2 separate regions of the Homo sapiens genome follow, and region 2 is linked to region 1. The links are contacts of gene promoters, found by promoter capture Hi-C in human tissues and cell types (Jung and others, 2019). All regions are on one chromosome and are shown on one strand. The core of a region is centred on a gene start or on the middle of the fragment in contact, and the rest is flanking DNA. Distances in the headings are between cores, read along the strand shown.

Region 1 (2,500 bases), core at 1-2,500:
ACCCATAGAAACAGCAATCCCGTCTGTTTGTCTTGGCTATATCCTTGCCTTACTCCCAAGCACAAGAACAGAGTCCTACCTTCCTAAAGGGTTATCTCTCTCTCTCTCTCTCTCTCTATATATATATATATATGTGTGTGTGTGTGTGTGTGTGTGTGTGTGTGTGTATGTGTGTGTGTGTGTATATAGATAGATAGATAGAGATATATATGTAAAATCTTTTTTTTTTTTTTGAGACGGAGTCTCACTCTGTCCCCCAGGCTAGAGTGCAGTGGTGCGATCTTGGCTCACTGCAACCTCCACCTCCTGGGTTCAAGTGATTCTCCTGCCTCAGCCTTCTGAGTAGCTGGAATTATAGGCACCAAGGGTGCTTTGTATATTAAACCAGCTAGAGATCAGCTCCCAGCAGACAAGACCAAAGGCACCCCATGGGAAATGCTCATCATGAGAAATGAGGCTTTTCACCAGACCAGCTCTTCATGCCATACAACCAGACCCTTCCCCTGCCACTTTCTATCAACCCTGAAAAGAGAAAAGTCAGCCAGGCACAGTAGCACTTTGGGAGGCCGAGGTGGGAGAATTGCTTGAGGCCAGGAGTTCAAGACCGATGTGGCCAACATAGTAAGACCCTGTCTTTTTTTAATAATAATAATAGCTGGGTGCAGTGGCTCACACCAGTAATCCCAGCACTTTGGGAGGTCGAGGTGGGTGGATCACTTGAGTCAGGAGTTCAAGACTACCCTGGTCAACATGACGAAACCCGGTTTCTACCAAAAATACTTAACTTAGCCGGGCGTGGTGGCGGGCACCTGTAGTCCCAGCTACTCGGGAGCCTGAGGCAGGAGAATCGCTTGAACCCAGGAGGCAGAGGTTGCAGTGAGTAGAGATTGCGCCACTGCACTCCAGCCTGGGTGACAGAGCAAGACTCCATCTCCAAAATAATAATAATAATACGGAGAAAAGTCTGGAATGAAGTAAGAAGGCAACAAGAAAGGAGGGAACTATGAGTCTAGTGCCCTGGGTCGGGGCTGGAGAGGACTAGCCTCAGGGTCTCCCTATGCCCACCTACCCACTGTCAGCCTTCCTTCACCTGTGTTTGACTTGGCCCTCAGACCCAAGCTCTGGACTTCCACCCTGGAGCCAGCTCACGCTATCCCTCACCAAACCCTCTTACCTGCTTGTTCAACCAAAAGGAGTAAGAGCAAGACCACTGCTGGAATCATCTTGGGCTGGAGATCGGCCGTTCTGACAGCACTGTGCAGCTGTGCTCAGCGAGCAGTTCCCTGACCACAGAGTCCCCCTCTTCCTGCCACGCCTTCCCCCATGCTTTGGCCCCTTCCCCTTCCTGCACAAGAGACCGGGCGGCTCCCGGAAGGGCCAACTAAGGGAGTTGGGAGATCTGGGCTCTTAAGCGTCAGCCCTTCAATGACCAACTCCTAACCCACAGAATGAGGAGACTTTCACGCTCAGGAAAGGCTGTCTACATCTGCCATTTTCCACTCCACCTGGTTCAGATTTTTTTTTTTTTTTTTTTTTTTGAGACGGACTCTTGCTTTGTTGCCCAGGCTGGAGTGCAATGGCGCCATCTCGGCTCACCGCAACCTCCGCCTCCCAGGTTCAAGCGATTCTCTCAGCCTCCCGAGTAGCTGGCATTACAGGCATGCACCACCACGCCCGGCTAATTTTGTATTTTTAGTAGAGATGGGGTTTCTCCATGTTGATCAGGCTGGTCTTGAACTCCTGATCTCAGGTGATCCATCCGCCTCGGCCTCCCAAAGTGCTGGGATTACAGGCGTGAGGCACTGCGCCCGGCTGGTTCAGAGATTTATCTGTGTGAAACTGCCCGTCAACATTCCCTCAGACCCCACTATAGCCCTTTCCCTCCCAACTTTACCCCAGGTCTTGATTTGAGTGGTTTACCAAGTTATGTGGGCACTGAGAAGGTTTGGGCAAGGAGGGAACTGAGGCGAAAGAGGAAATGGGGAATAGAGAAGTGGAAAGGACAAGAGTCAGAGAAGGGGGTGGAGACGAGCAGGAAAAATTGCTAAGACCTGACTGAATCTAACAGGAATGGAGGGTTAATGAACATTCTTAGGTTTACAGTCCGAGTGAAGGACACTAAGATACTGAGACACTAAGATACCAGAAGTTTAGGCCTAGGGGCCGCAAGACGGCTAATTTATTATAATTTCTCCTTTTTTAGTACATGCACAGAAAGCCTGACAGCCAAGTGTACATGAACATACACACACACACACACACACACACACACACAGAGGCCAATTTCCAGTGAGGAACAGGCTCCACAGAAGAAGCTGATAGGCAGGGGGGATCAAACGCTGCTCCCCTGCTCACCGATCTACTTCTCCAAATACAATATCTTGGGTACCTAGGTGAGAGGATGGAGGAAAAAAGTGATGTTACTTATCTTCCTGTTGTGAGGCAAAACAAACAAAAAAAGTGGTGTTACCCAAGATCCAGAACCCATTACTGTGCTCAA
Region 2 (4,435 bases), core at 891-3,390, 130 kb before region 1:
GGCCAAGGCAGGTGGATCACCTGTAGTCAGGAGTTCAAGACTAGCCTGGCCAACATGGTGAAACCCCGTCTCTACTAAAAATACAAAATTAACCAGGCATGGTGACGCGTGCCTGTAATCCTAGCTACTGGGAAAGCTGAGGCAGGAGAATCACTTGAACCCAGGAGGTGGAGGTTGCAGTGAGCCGAGATTATGTCACTGCACTCCAGCCTGGGAGACAAGAGCGAAACTTGGTCTCAAAAAAATTTTTTTAAACTAAAGAGAAAAAAAAGGTATTATCCAAATTTGTGGACAAAAATACTGAGGCTTGGTGGCAGGTGTGGTGACAAATAACTTTTTCAAGGTAAGGTCTCACAGTTAGTGACAGAGTTAGAATTGAACTCAGATCTGTCTCATTCCAAAGTGCACTTTTTTCACTTTTTCTACACTCAGTCTGGAATAACCAGGATTTCTAAAGTATAACAGATGATATTTAAGAATCAATAACTAATATCCCATCTCATGACAGAAGAAAAACACAGTCATTTTCAAAGCCCATCAGTTACTTTATGAATCTGTAAATCTTTTGGCTTTTCTAGAGAATAGGCTACCTGCCTGAGCAGCAGGTTTGCCTACAAATTCAGGCAATCTCTCACAAAAGTTCTGATTCTTCCATCTGACCCTGTTTTTATTTTATTTTTTATTTTTATTTATTTTTATTTTTGAGATAAAGTCTCGCTGTCACCCAGGCTAGAGTGCAGTGGCATGATCTCGGCTCACTGCAACCTCTGCCTCCTGGGTTCAAGCGATTCTCGTGCTTCAGTCTCCCAAGTAGCCCACGTTACAGGAATGTGCCACCTACACCCAGCTAATTTTTTATATTTTTAGTAGAGATGGGATTTCGCCATGTTAGCCAGGCTGTTCTCAAACTCCTGGTCTTAAGCAATCCACCTGCCTTGGCCTCTCAAAGTGCGGGGTTTACAAGCGTGAGCCACAGCACCTGGCCTGACTGTTTTTAAAGACTACCCAAAACATGCAGGACCATTCTTATATCCATTCAAGCTAATTGTACAATTCATATACAGATACATGAATATCTGTATATATTGGTTCAAAGCTTAAAATATCTGTTGTTTAGTATCTTTATTCTCTCTTCCTAATCTCATGCTTTATGTTGTATGTTTTATCTTGTTATTTATGATTTCCTAGACTCATTCATTATTGCAACTTCAGCTATCTGCCATTCTCAAGGCATGTACCTAAATTCAACTAGACTTTTATAGGAAAAAGTCAAATAGACTTTTTCTGTCACTATGAAAAATCCTGAGTATTTTTATTTATTTATTTTTGAGACAGAGTCTCGCTCTGTCACCCAGGCTGGAGTGCACTGGTGCGATCCTAGCTCACTGCAACCTCTGCCTTCCAGGTTCAATTCATTCTCCTGGCTCAGTCTCCCAAGTAACTGGGATTATAGCCATGCGCCACCCACAACTGGCTAATTTTTTTTTTTTTTTTTTTTTGGATTTTTAGTAGAGATGGGGTTTCACTATGTTGGCCAGGCTGGTCTCAAACTCCTGATCTCAGGTGATCCACCCGCCTCAGCCTCCCAAAGTGCTGGGATTACAGCCATGAGCTACCGCACCCAGCCCTGAGTATTTTAATCTTTATGGATCCTAAGCAATATAAGAGTGCTATTAGTCTCCTCTTTCAACCTTTCAAAACATTGCAGGCCAGGCGCAGTAGCTCATGCCTGTAATCCCAGTACTTTGGGAGGCAGAGGCAGGCGGATCACTTGAGGTAAGGAGTTCAAGACCAGCCTGGCCAACATGGTGAAATCCCGTCTCTACTAAAAATACAAAAATTAGCCAGGCATGGTGACACATGCCTGTAGTCCCAGCTACCTGGGAGGCTGAAGCAGGAGAATTGCTTGAACCCAGGAGGAGACAGAAGTGCAGTGGGCCACGATGGCACCATTGCACTCCAGCCTGGGCGACAGGGCAAGACTCCATCTCAAAAAAAAACAAACAAACAAAAATTGTCAAGTTTCTTTTTAATAAATTCTATTTTAAAGTCAAACTAGTGTTAACATGCTTTTTAAAATTTATATATTAGCCATAAAATCTCTATAGTTAAAATAAATAACTTATTTTGTATTTATCCAGGAGGCCAGCTTGTCCTGTTACTGGAACAAAAGAGCACATGAACTTTTAATGGCTTTTCATGGTCTACAGCATGGCAGTCAAAGTCCTTCACCATTTGGCCCACTTTCTAGCCTTATCTTCTGTCACTTCTCCCATAAACATCATTCTTTTTTTATTTTTTGAGACAGAGTGTCACTCTGTTGCCAGGCTGGAGTGCAGTGGCGTGATCTCGGCTCACTGCAACCTCCGCCTCCTGGGTTCAAGCAATTCTCCTGCCTCAGCCTCCCAAGTATCTGGGACTACAGGCACATGCCACCATGCCCAGCTAATTTTTGTATTTTTAGTAGAGATGGGGTTTCACCATGTTGGCCAGGATGGTCTTGATCTCTTGACCTTGTGATCCACCTGCCTCGGCCTCCCAAAGTGCTGGGATTACAGGTGTGAGCCACCGCGCCTGGCCCCATAAACACCATTCTTAAGAAACAGACCTCAGCCGGGTGTGGTGGCTCATGCCTGTAATCCCAACACTTCAGGAGGCCGAGGTAGGTGGATCACGAGGTCAGGAGTTCAAGACCAGCCTGGCCAAGATGTTGAAACCCCAACTCTACTAAAAATACAAAAAAAATTAGTTTGGCATGGTGGCAGGTGCCTGTAATCCCAGCTACTCGGAAGGCTGAGGAAGAAAATTTCTCTAACCTGGCAGGCGGAGGTTGCAGTGAGCCGAGATCGTGCCACTGCACTCCAGCCTGGCCGACAGAGCGAGACTCCATCTCAAAAAAAAAGGAAAAAAAGAAACAGACCTCGTCATAATCATCCAATGATCCGGGAGATTTCCAATCCCTATGCCTTTCCATAAAGGAATTTCTCTGTTGGAATGCCCTCCTCTACCTCCTCTTCACAAACTCTCCTGTTCACACTTCTTTCAAGCCTTCTAACTCCCTCAGAGTGCTGTCAACTCTGTGTCCTGAGTTCTGCATCCATGGATTCTGCATCTGTGGATATACAACTAACTGTGGATTGAAAATATTGGGTGGGGGAAATGAATGGTTTTATCTGTACTGAAAACGTACACTTTTTTTTTCTTGTTATTATTCCATAAACAATATAACTATTTACATAGCGTTTACATTGTATTAGGTATTATAAGTAATCTAGAGATAATTTTAAGTATATGATGTACATAGGATATATCCAAATACCACATCCTTTTATATAAGGGACTTGAGTATCTGTAGATTTTGGTATCTGAGGAGGAATCCTGGAACCAATCTCCAACAGATAATAAGGGACAACTGTATTTGTTGGTTTCTCCTCTGGGGTCTCATATCTCTTATTAAAAAGCTATCATGGCCGGGCATGGTGGCTCATACCTGTAATCCCAGCACTTTGGGAGGCCAAAGTGGGCAGAACACCTGAGGTCCGGAGTTCGAGACCAGCCTGACCAACATGGAGAAACCCTGCCTCTACTAAAAATACAAAATTAGCCAGGCGTGGTGGTGCATGCCTGTAATCCCAGCTAGTCGGGAGGCTGAGGCAGGAGAATCACTTGAACCTGGGAGGCAGAGTTGTAGTGAGCTGAGATCGCGCTATTGCACTCCAGTCTGGGCAACAAAAGCGAAACTCTGTCTCGAAAAAAAAAAAAGCTATCACAGTGCATTATAAATATTTGTCTTACTCCTTAGATTCCTCTATCCTTGAGAGTAGAGACTATATATTATCCCTATCTAATTTCTAATGTGTAACAGGAGGTTAATTAGAAGGTGGGAAAAATGAACACTTCTAAGTGACCACTATGAGCAAAGTGATTTACATGGGTATGTTCATTTAGTAAATAAAGATTTTCTAAGCACCTATTGAGTGCTAGAGGGTATGAATGGTAAATAAGATAGATAGAGTATCCACTCTTTGAAGACTTTACAGTCTAATAAAAGACGCAGATTTGGCTGGGCGTGGTGGCTCACGCCTGTAATCCCAACACTTTGGGAGGCTGAGGCGGGCAGATTCCTTGAGGTCAGGAGTTTGAGACCAGCCTGGCCAAATAGTGAGACCCTGTCTCTACTAAAAATACAAACATTAGCCGTGCATGGTAGTGGGTGCCTGTAATCCCAGCTACCCGGGAGGCTGAGGCAGAAGAATTGCTTGAACCTTGGAGGCAGAGGCTGCAGTGAGCTGAGATCGCGCCACTGCACTCCAGCCTGGGCAACAGAGCAAGACTCCGTCTCAAAAAAAACAAAAAACAAAACAAAAAAACCCAGATTTATAAAAAGTTAGCAAATAAAATAATTACAACTGCCAGGCGCAGTGGCTCAAGCCTG

What was found. Contacts are between HindIII fragments. The study calls those that stand out against the background at their distance.
Region 2: a fragment that was not itself captured here is called in contact with the fragment with the promoter of FCER1G in region 1 in 4 of the 25 tissues and cell types used here (H1 embryonic stem cells, bladder, lymphoblastoid cells and 1 more).

What each region holds. Positions count from the first base shown.
Region 1 is chr1:161,214,045-161,216,544 of GRCh38, reverse strand. FCER1G (Fc epsilon receptor Ig) reads right to left here and starts at 1,250. Exons shown (of 5, transcript NM_004106.2): 1 at 1,175-1,250. The coding sequence starts at 1,223. NDUFS2 (NADH:ubiquinone oxidoreductase core subunit S2) reads right to left here. Exons shown (of 14, transcript NM_001377299.1): 14 at 2,150-2,389. The coding sequence ends at 2,352. The HindIII fragment of the contact is 8,503 bases long and covers 1-2,500 here.
Region 2 is chr1:161,345,731-161,350,165 of GRCh38, reverse strand. All of the region lies in intron 4 of SDHC (succinate dehydrogenase complex subunit C), which reads right to left. Among named protein-coding and RNA genes, the nearest start is that of CFAP126, 20 kb to the left of the region's middle. The HindIII fragment of the contact is 5,263 bases long and covers 1-4,435 here.